Linked DNA regions of Homo sapiens: region 1 is linked to region 2. The links are contacts of gene promoters, found by promoter capture Hi-C in blood cells and fetal thymus (Javierre and others, 2016). All regions are on one chromosome and are shown on one strand. The core of a region is centred on a gene start or on the middle of the fragment in contact, and the rest is flanking DNA. Distances in the headings are between cores, read along the strand shown.

What was found. Contacts are between HindIII fragments. The CHiCAGO score rates a contact against its expected background, and 5 or more counts as called.
Region 1: a contact is called between a fragment that was not itself captured here and the fragment with the promoter of GASK1A in region 2, in 1 of 17 cell types (endothelial precursors). The highest score is 5.9, in endothelial precursors.

Annotation. Positions count from the first base shown.
Region 1 is chr3:44,178,973-44,184,591 of GRCh38, forward strand. No RefSeq gene overlaps it. Among named protein-coding and RNA genes, the nearest start is that of TOPAZ1, 60 kb to the right of the region's middle. The HindIII fragment of the contact is 2,248 bases long and covers 1,481-3,728 here.
Region 2 is chr3:42,974,822-42,980,709 of GRCh38, forward strand. It overlaps GASK1A (golgi associated kinase 1A), which reads left to right and starts at 4,490. Exons shown (of 5, transcript NM_001129908.3): 1 at 4,490-4,824. The coding sequence starts at 4,822. The HindIII fragment of the contact is 11,487 bases long and covers 1-5,888 here.

The DNA of each region.
Region 1 (5,619 bases), core at 1,355-3,854, 1.2 Mb after region 2:
GAGAGACATGTTGATCTGCTATATAAAGATCTTGATCAGATAAGTGCAACTTACAGTTCTAGGCAGAGCATCTTGAAGCAAATTTGAGGAATTATCATTTTTCTTTTTAAACATATATTTCAAAATCAATTTCCTCATACTTTCTACTTTCCATTAACTGTTCCTTGTGGCTATGAATACTACAACTAAGAATAAAACAATATAAAATACATAATAAAGTCACTGCAATATCTATTCTACTAGCCCCTGTAGACTTGGGTTCAGATAGACAATCTCATAAGACACAACAGGCCTCAACTAGCACCAAGTGTGTTTAGCTTTAATAAAGGATAGAGAGCATGAAATATCCTGGCATGCACAGCAATGGCAGAGCATAGGTCCTGTGACTCCTGGGCACAGCTGCTGGTGTCCCAGCCATTCTGAACTCGGAACATGTGTGGTCATAAGAGACGAGACTGAGTGACTGCTGCTGACCCCAGCTCAGGGAAGCCATGGGCTCTGAGCTCTTTCGGCTTTATGCCAGCTGGCCTTACAGCCCCTCAGGCATATGACTAGTCTTGATTCTTTAGGGCAGCTGCATCTCAATATCAATTATTCATTATTCAATAACAAATTTTGACAACATGCGACACCTGTACATAATCCTCAGATGGATTTTATGTTATCAGTAGCATATCATCCCAACAATTCTTTGAGTTAATGCTGCAAGAAGATCCTCAGCTATCCCTGAGGCTCAAGGAAATACTACAGAAGCAGCTGCTAACCTCCTTCCAGCTCACTTCCTGATCCCCATTAAAACATGTTGATACATGTTTGAGGTATTTTCTTATTCTTAATATAGTAATTTCCACCATATTTGTTGTACAACAAAATAAATATGCTAAAATACAGACAACCACTAAGATCTACATCCTCCAATGAAGAGTTGGGATTATTTCTGCAAAGCATGTTAACAACACTCTGCCCCATTCACAAATGTTCTGATATATAATATGGTACCAATTGTTCCACTCTTCCCTTCTATATTCTCCCCCCTCCCCACCCATTGTTTGCACATTTTTAATAGATATCGATAGAAGCATTCAACTCCATGGTGTCTTTTGGCAAGTTTTGATGGGAATTACATCAATTGGAGGTTTTAAGACTACTTCCCGAAACATCTTTTCATCCTGTTCATCCTGGAGATCATCTGCTACATTGGCTTGATTTTCATTTAGCTCTATACATGAAGCTAGAAATCTTTTATTATACTCTATAATGATTACAGAGATTAAAGTAATGCTTACTACATCATACATCAGTTAATATAATGGTGTCATTTCCCCAACCTTCCAAGCAAAAACATCCTTTGTCTCAAATATCACTTATTTTTCTTAATTGAGGTGGTCATTAAAGGCCACTGCTCAGTAAACTTTGAGTTCCACTGGTCCCAGGCCATGATCATACCCTTGCAACCAAGAAACAAGTTCTCACAAACCCAAGCTTCCAGGTTTCACTATACAGCACCACCCATCTGCCATCCCAAAGTTCCAGGGGAGCCAGTGGGATGGGGTGACCATATCACATAGGTATTCACCCTCGTGGACACCCTTCTGATTCCTGAATGCTTGATTGCATGGTTTTTCATCCACATCCACATCTGGTATAGTCAAAAAGCAAAGTGAATTCTGAGACACTGTGTAAGCAGTAAGATGCAACTTTTTTATATCTTTACCTAGATGCCACCCTGAATTACAACATTACAATGTATCAGCTGCCAGGTACATGCAAGTTCAAAGCTAAGGGCTACAAAAGAACCAATATCACAAACATAACCAAAACAAACAAAAGCTACCCAAATAATGATCCAGCCGGCTATCATTCAGGTTGACCAAAGGGCTATTGATTGGTATATTTTCTCTAATTAACCTAGTAAAATTCTAAACTATTCCTTGGGTCAGTCATGATCCTGTAGTTCTACCTACTTGGGAGGCTGGGGTGGGAGGACTGCTTGAGCCCAGGAGTTTGAGTCTGCAGTGAACTAACTGCGCCACTGCACTCCAGCCCGAGTAACAGAGTGAAACCCTGTCAATCGATCAAGCAAGTAATTAGCATACCTTGTATTCTAGCTTCAGTCCAAATTTTCTCAAGGGAAAGCAAATCCAGGGGCTTCTCCCAGAATCTGCCATGGTTTGGCACCACAAACACCTAACTGTATTATTCTCTTGTTCCAGGATGCAATTTTTTTTTTTTTTTTTTTTTGGAGACAGAGTCTCACTCTGTCACCCAGGCTATATACAGTGCAGTGGCACGATCCCAGCTCACTGCAACCTCTGCCTCCTGAGTTCAAGCGATTCTCCTGCCTGCCTCAACCTCCCAACTAGCTGGAATTACAGGCACCTGTCACCATGCCGGGCTAATTTTTGTATTTTTAGTAGAGATGGGGTTTCACCATGCAGGCCAGGCTGGTCTCAAACTCCTGACCTCAAGTGATCCACCCACCCCAAAGTGCTAGGATTACAGACGTGAGCCACTGCACCCAGCTCAAGATGCAGTCTTGAGAAGATAGTGACATCCTTTCCTGGCATCACCGTCTATTTGTGTGCTCTATCGCCATCTGTCACGATTTCCCCTTTTGCCCATTCATTGTCTGTCTCAAATCAGATAATGAATTTAGATCCATGGATTCAGCTACACTGCCGACCCCAGAGCAGACAGCAGGGTTAGGCTGGCCATGTCTTTGTCTATTCACAGGAAAGAGAAGGCAGGGGGTCAGACAAGCCAAGGATTATGGAACTATACATGTAGGCAGCTGGGCAGGATTTAGAGGCAGTCTTAGTTTAGACACACGAGGTAAAGTCACCAGTTCGCACTTGTCTTTGTTAAAAAGCACGATAAAATTCTAAGAAACAAATAGCACCCTGAGCAGTAATGTTTCCTGTCTGCATAATCTTTGCCCAAATTATTTCCCCAAATTGAACTGATAGGAACAAGTGAAGTAACCATCTTCAGCTGGTCATATGTGCTACTGGAGTTCTCCAGTCTTCCCTGCCTGCTTCTTTTGAAAAGGAGGTCATCATAATATCAATGTGAAAAACAACTTTTGATAGTAACCAAATCCAAATTGCTTCTCACCAGGTTGTGAGCATACATTGGAGAATTCAGAAATGCATACTGCATTTCTTCCTGTAAGAAAATGAATTGTGCCTGGCTTCCTTTTGAAATTCATACAGAAAAGCAAGCATTCGTCAAATCTGTCACATTTTCAATCTGTTGCACTTCCTAAATAGTTTTCACTGTGTCTAGTTTGGTGAAAAGCCATGATTGCCAACATTTGTCCCCAGGAGCCACCCACTTTACTCATAGGCCAAATAGGACTGCTATGAGCGTTGAGAGATAATCACTCCTGCTTCTTCCATTGATTAGAGCTGAAATTTTTAGTGCAGTATGGTTTAATAGTCAGTTGAAAGTGGGTATAGTGGGGAAGGGGATGGGGGAAGCTATAGTACTTGAGAAGTGATTTGCCAGGTCTGTTCAAAAGCAATGTGTTCAGTAAGCAGCCAGGCATATTTGACCTCCTCTGAGTTAAGGTTTCCTCCCAAGAACACTGGCATGGTGAATGTCAATAATTGTAAAGGGTCTGAGATTTTACCCTACTTGCAAGTTAACAAATTAGCCTGCCACCATTTCATGGTCAAAGTACTCCTAGATCAAAGGATTTAATTACTCGTGGAACAACAAGAAACATAAGCTTCATGTTTGCACGAGTTCCCCTTGCATTAGGTGGATGCTGCACTGCAAGTATCAAAGTCCCAAGGGGGGAAAGAAGTTAGCATACTTAAGAACGGAAAGAATACAAGTATGACTACAGCCTAGTCATCAAGTGGAGAAGTAGAATGATGAGATTAGCAAGATAAGCGGGAGCTAGATCTGCAGGGCCTGTGGATCATGACACGAAGTCGTGAATTTTATTCTAGAAGATGGAGAGCCATGAAACTCTGCAAAGTGGGAAATGCCATCATCTGATTTAGGCCTAAGGGAGATCATTGTGGTAGCAATATGAAGAAAAGATATAAGAAGGTCAAGAGTGAAAACTTTAGTCCAAATGAGAGTTGAGGGTGGCTTAGAGTAGGAGATGATAGAAGATACAAAGATGTAGATAGATTCAGGACAATGTGGAACTTGAACCAACAAGTCCTGTGCAGGGATTGATGGGGAAAGATTCTGCTGTGGGAGTTAAGGAAGAATTGAGGGTGATGTCTAGATTTCTGGTATGAAAAAAAAACAAACATACAAGAAGCAGATAGGAGATGAGGTATAGGCAGCCAGAGGAGCATCATAATAACTCCTTTTGAATAAAATATTTTTGAATTGTCTATATTTTGGCATATTAGAATTTGGAGTATATTTAAAGCTACGGGACTAGGCAAGATGACCCAGTCAATGAGCAGAGAGAAAAGATCAGAAAAATATCATGGATATGTGGGCAAAAATTTGGCAATAAGAGTAGACATCATGGTGTTTATTGTAAGAGAACAGTAGCCTAAAATCTATTAATAGGAGGCCGATTAAACAATGCTACGCCACCAATTTAGATTGTGTTCCATGTTGTATTTACTCACATAGAAAGTGACTCATAATTTTAAAAGGGTTACTAGGGTACATAGTTTGATCCCATTTTTCATTCAAGCAGCTCTGTACATGTGCATAAAAATTAGCTTAAAAGAGACATACATTAAAATATACACCAAAATATTAACTGTAGTTCTGAATGGTTATAGATTTTTCTGTTTCTGCATTTTCTAAATCTTCAATGAACATGTATCATTCATATAACAAGAGAAAAGCCAAGAAAAAATAATCCAGCTCCTCACAGCTCATCTTTGGGACTAAATCCTGCTTCTAGAGACTTGCAGGCAGGTATTAAGCTAAACCTCAATTCATCAGGACTGTCCAACTCTGTCTTACTTCTTAAGCATCATTTGTGTAGCCTGTAGTTCTGAACCTTGGCTACATATTAGAATCAGCTAAGGAACTTATATTTCTATGCCAGGGACCTACCCCTAAAGATTCTGACTTAAGTGAGCTGGAAAGTGGCCCAGGCATAACATTTGTGTGCCCTTGATAATTCTGATGGGCAGGAAGTGTTGGGAACTACTAGTAAGCCCTAGCTTGGTCTCCAAAGCACTGTTCTGAAGTTTTAGAAAGGAAAAGCAGCTAGAGAAGGAATAATTGTGGAAGAAAGCAGACCTGGAAATAATGGATGAGAGAGAAATTAATGAAGACATAAAATTCCAAGAGGAAAGGTTGAGAACTCCTCCCACCTCAAAATAGCTTTTATTTCACACCAGGCACTAGTTAGCTGCAAAAATCTGATCCCTGCACAGAAGTTGATAATAAGAGGCCGTTCACAAAGCTGCTGGAGCAGGTGTTTCCTCCCGAAAGGGGGCGGGCCAGAACTGTAAATCTCATTTTGGAAGTTTCGAGCCCTGGGGATACTATTCTGTGGCGCTGCCACTCTAGCTGCCATCTGGACTGAATCTCAGCTCCCGTTTCTGGGGCAGCCCTCGATCCAACTGGCAGCCCCACCGTTTGCATTCTTGCACAGTGTGTGAATGGAGGGGGAGAGCCTTTGGCTAG
Region 2 (5,888 bases), core at 3,240-5,739:
TAACACTTTGGGGGGACTGTTGAAAAGGCATGATTGGTTTTGAAATGTAAGGACATGACATTTGGGAGGGGCCAGGGCAGAATAATATGGTTTGGCTGTGTCCCCACCCAAATCTCATCTTGAATTCCCACATGTTGTGGGAGGGACCCTATGGGAGGTAATTGAATCATGGGAACAGATATTTCCCATGCTGTTTTCATGATAGTGAATAAGTCTCATGAGATCTGATGGCTTTGTAAGGCGGAGTTTCCCTGCACAAGCTCTCTCTCTCTTTGCCTGCTGCCATCCATGTAAGACGTGACTTGCTCTTCCTTGCCTTCTGCCACGATTGTGAGGCCATGTGGAATTCTAGGTCCATTAAACCTCTTTCTTTGGTAAATTGCCCAGTCTTGGGTATGTCTTTATCAACAGCATGAAAACAGACTAATATAGGGAGTAAATATTTGCTGAACAATAATGTAAGTTACCTCAGCCCCCTTCAAATGCTTCTGTGGGCCCCACCAATGACTTCCATTTGCTTCTTATTGGCTGTTCGTTTTTGCAAGGGAGGTTGTGAAATATATAATTTTTTGGCCAAGTATACTGCTTCCCCTTGAAATATACGAGTTAAGTGAATGAAAAAAAAGAATGTAAACTGGATGCTAACATTCTCTGCTGCAAAAGAAGTTTTTTTCTCATTCGTCATTCTTGGATTCAATAAATGTTTTTGAAAGTTTACCATGAGAAAAGTCCTGACTTGGATGTTGTAACTTATATGAGCACATTACATGGTTGCAGGAATCCAGGGAGTTAGGCTGGGCTGGGATGATGGTTCTTATCTGTCAGATGAGGAACCTGAACCAGTGGAGAGGAAGTGGCTTTGCTGAGGACCCATGCTTTGTGAGTGGTAGATTCAGTTTTGAACCTCAGTCTTCTCTGTCTCATTCCTTTATTCAGAAGCATTTATCAAGTAGCTACTTGGTACCAGGAAGATGGAGACAGAAGGCCCAGAATCGTCTTTTCTTCTAGGAAGTGAGAGTCACAGGAGATAATATTTGCAACAGAGAAACTTCAGGGGACATGCTGTGCTGGACCTTCAGGATGGGGAGGACTGGTGCAGGGAGGTATGTCAGGTTGGAAATAGGAATGTGTCAAGAAAAGGCTTTGAGATGGAGGAAACTGCCCTGAAGGAGGTTTATGAGTGTGTAAAAGGCTTGAAGAAGTAATCGGAGGTCAAACCTTGAAGGAGTCTGAAAGCTATGCTGCTGAGGAATTTGCACTTAATCCTGAGAGTTATGTGGAACAGGTCAGTGGCAGGCCCATGTTTACGTTTTGGCAGTAATGTGCAGGATGGATTGGAAAGAGCAAAAGTAGAGCCTGAGATGCTAGTTGAGTTTCTGAGAGTACTGTAAGTGATGACAAAAGTTTGAGCCAAAGAACTGGCCGTGAGGAGGAGAAAGATTCCAGAATCATTTAGAAAGGCCATTTGGATATGGGAGCCAAGGAAGAGGAATTGCGTCGTTCAGCAGTTCTCAGCCCTGGCTATGCTTAAAAAATATAAAGACACTCAAGCCTTGGAAATTTTGATTCAGTAAGTCTGGAATGGAGCTAGACATGGAATCTTATTAGAGAGTGGGCCTGTTGGGCCGCTGCCTGGGGTACCAGTTTATAAGAAACCCTAAAACGTCCTTAGAGCAAGTTGGAAATCTGCTAACTGGTGAAAGATAGACTCACTCCTAATGAACCTGGAGCACCCTGTCATGAAAATAATAAAATATTCCTCTCTAGCACCAACCTGTCCCAGTGGAGTGAGTTGAGTATTTCCTACTTGCAAGGTCTGCAGTGTAACCAGAGGCTCTGCCAACAACCTGGGAGCAGCCAACCACCAGTCAACAAAAATTTGGAAAGTAACAAAACATGAAGTGTTGTTTCCTAGAAGGGAGGGATTTACTGGTTATCTAAATTTAAAACCCTTTAATATAGCTTCCAAGAAGTTGCGGCCAGGCGCGGTGGCTCACGCCTGTAATCCCAGCACTTTGGGAGGCCGAGGCAGGTGGATCATGAGGTCAGGAGATCGAGACCATCCTGGCTAACAAGGTGAAACCCCGTCTCTACTAAAAATACAAAAAATTAGCCGGGCGCGGTGGCGGGCGCCTGTAGTCCCAGCTACTCGGGAGGCTGAGGCAGGAGAATGGCGTGAACCCGGGAAGCGGAGCTTGCAGTGAGCCGAGATTGCGCCACTGCAGTCCGCAGTCCGGCCTGGGCGACAGAGCGAGACTCCGTCTCAAAAAAAAAAAAAAAAAAAAAAAAGAATTACAAGGTGGAACTGAAGAGGAATGGAGTGTGCAATCTTAAATAGAGTGGTCAGAGAAGGCTTCACTAAAGAGGTGACACTTGGGCAAAGACCTGAAGGAGATGAGGGAGCAAACCATGGGGATATCTGGGGCATTCTAGGGAGAGGGATAACAAGTGCAAAGGTCCTGAGGTGGGATCTTGCCTGTAATATGCAAGGGACAATAAGAAGGTGAGTGTGTCCTGGAGCACAGTGAGAGAGAGTGTGCAGAGATAATGTTAGAGAACCAATGAGGGCCAAAGTGTGAAAGGACTTGTAGGCCCCTGTAAGATGTGGCATGTTACACTGCAGGAGATTTGAAGCCTCTGGTAGGTTTTGAGCAGAGAAATGACAAAAATCTGATTTATGACTCTTTTCAAGTAATTCTTCTTAAAAGTAATTTTATTCATGTTATTAGGATGGACCAGGATATGCTATAACAACAAACAATTCTTTACAGCTTAGCCATGTTCTTGTGTGACATTTTATTTGGCTGGGCTAGATCCTGCAGCAGCTTTTCCCAAGTGTGTTCCATGAGTCATTGGAGCTGCTTCTTTTGAAAAACAGTTCTGCTTCCAGTAATCCTGGAAATACTGGGCACTCTCTTCCTGTCTAAGTTAGTGATTTGAGACCATCATTAAAAATACATAAAATTGGAATAGAATAGAAAATGTCAGAGTGCATCACATGAAGTAATGTTTTATAAAACAATCTTTTAGTTACATTTATACATATATGTTTAATATATATCTTGTGTGGGGTCACAGTCAGAAAATGAGACTCAAAAGATCACAGCGTCTCCCTAAACATCTAAATAAAACCCTGAATGGTTTGTACTGTCCTCCACCCTCTTCCCTCATTTCCCAACCAGGGCTCAAACTCTCTGTCCTTTCAGTAGTCCATATGCACAGACAAGCTGCAGTTTGCAGTGCTACATCCTGCCTCCTGTTCCTGCCATATCAAGTCTTCCTCTTTGTTTCATGTTCTGGCAAATAGACTTGGATTTGCTAAACTGTTTACTGGCGATCTGGTCTCAGGAAAGTTACTTCACCTCCCTAATCCTGACTTTCCTAATTTGCAAAAGTTTTCCTTTTAGGATCGTTTGTGGTTATTAAATGAAATAATGTACAGAAAGCATCTGGAATGTTAAGGACCGAATACTTTCCCTTCATCTGTTCCTCCTGCCCATACACACATACACAATTTAAGGGGACTCTCTGGATCTTTGCTTCCCTTTAGAAGCACTGCCATCAGTGATAACCTCAGATCATTCTGGGGCAGGAGACTGCTGGGAAGATGCCTGTCTTCATCTAGCTAATGATGCTTCCTGTTAGTTTCAGTACTGGAGGCTAATTTTTCAGCCTGGCCCCCAAATTCTCTCAGAGCACCCTACTGCTGACTCTGCCTCGCCTCCATCCATTGTCTACAGGCTCTTAATAATCCTGGGGTCCAAACATTGGGCCACTGGGGGACACAAGTCATAAAGACGTCTGGGGACTGGTCGATGGTCATCCAGCTGTTAATAGTGGGGCTAGCCCTGATTTTGGGACTACAGAACCCCTAAGCCCAGGACATTCCCCAACGGGGAACGGATAGACTCTCAGGTCTTGCTCTGACTGTGCCTTTGTTGGCAGTAGGTGACTCAGGGGACACAAAGGCACTGTCTGTGCATCCAAAGCAGAGAGGTATCAGCCACTTACTTCAGTGACTTTAACAGTGATTAGTTCTCAAGGACAAAAACTCTTCATTGTTAATTAGCTTAGTGGTCAACGGATTTTCCTTCCAAATCCTCTTGGGGACTGAACCCAAACAAGGCGAAGAAGTGACAGTAAAAAAAGACTTGTCCTTCTGACAAGCGACAGTAAAGAAAAAGACTTGTCCTGCTTGGCAGGAGAGGGTGGCAGTTTGGGCAACACTCAGCCATATTGCTGAGTTGCAGCGAACTCACCAAGCACCCTCACACCTTAGAGGCGTCCCTCACCGTCCAGCCTTGGTGCATCACCCGTCAGGCGGGCAGTCAGGGCGTAGACCTTTCCTTCCTAGCACCTGGGCCCCTACTCCAGAAGACCAGAAGACTGCGGCTGGCCGAGCCCCCGGCAGGGCTTTTATTGTGAAGGGAGCTTCCCCCTCCCGCGCTTTCAGGGGAATGGGGAAGCTGGGCCGGGACGCGCGGCAGGGACTTTGCAAACTCTGCAAAAGTCCCGAGTAGACCGCAGAGGCTCGCGGCCGCGGGTAGGCTCCCTCAGATCCCCGTAGATCTCAGTAGATCCGGCGTGTATTCCCCACCCGCGGAGTATCCCGGTGTGCAGCGATCTCCCGAGAGTTGGCGCAGGGCCACTTGGCTGCAGAGAACGTGTGCACCTTCAGTCCGGGAAACCCGCCCCAGCCGAGTAGCCGCGCATCCTGGGAAGCCTGGCGAGCCACGGCGCCGGGGGCGGCCAAGGGGAGGCGGGATGAGTCTGCGAGCCGGCTGAGCGCGCCGAGGAGCCGGCCGGGGCACCGCCGGGGACATGGTAGGACTCGCGGGAAGGAACGCGCGAGCGGAGGGTGGGGCGATCACCAGGACAGGTGGCTGCAGTCAACGCGCAGCGGCCCAGGGCGCGCGCAGCCTGCGCGGCCTCCCGAGGCCGGAGTTGTTCCCCGAAAGTTGCATGGGGCGGCGGCGGCTTTCATTTCTGCACCAGAGCTGGGGGCGATCGGCTTTCCTGCCGCTCTTAGTGGGGCGGACCGTAATAAGGGGGCTTTTATTACTAATCTGCACTCCTTGACCTAACCGTAACCCACTCGCAACTCTGCAATCTTCATGCAATCCACAAGGCAGGGAGAGGGGAGCGTTCCCTGGGGAACCCACGGCAGCCTCTGATGAGATGCTTTTGAAGTCATTTTAATACTCTCCAAAGTTCATGTGAATTTTATACTATCTTCTCTAATTTAGCTATGTATTGATATTAAAAATAATGTCCTAACGTTTATTAACATTTAATAACTAAATTAACATTGAGTTAAATTGGCTCTAGTAAGGTTCCAATCCGCCTTCCTCTACCTCCCCGACAGGAGGACTGTTGGGCAGATGTGGAAGCACTGGTGGGTCTGGGATGTCACGATGAAACCAGGATCTTGTGGACGTGGCCCTTCCATTGATCAACTTCACAGACACTAACAGGCAGAAAAGAAAAACCCATCGAGAATGTGGCCCAGGCGGCTTAGCTAAAGGACACATGCAACCCCAGGAAAGGGGCGTCCCTCAGGCCCGGCCGCTGGTTAGTTGCTCTGCTTCTCCCGCAGCAGAAAACCCCTGCAACCCCAACTGGGCTCCTGCAGTTCACTGGGCTCCCCTGGCTGCTTCCGTGCCTGCTCGCCTCTTCCCTTTCCTTCCAAGCTCACAGAAGGCAGATCGGAACCCACTGGAGATGCTTTGTGGGGAGTTTTGCTGGGCCTGGGGTTTAGAAGGCTGTCTAGAGACTGCGCTGTAGGATGGAGGGTCTCTGTGAGAACAGCTCCTTTGTGTGCAGGGGGGCCTGGCAGGTGGCTGGAACAGAGGTGGAGGGCTGGTCATAAGGAGCTGGGGGCTCAGGGA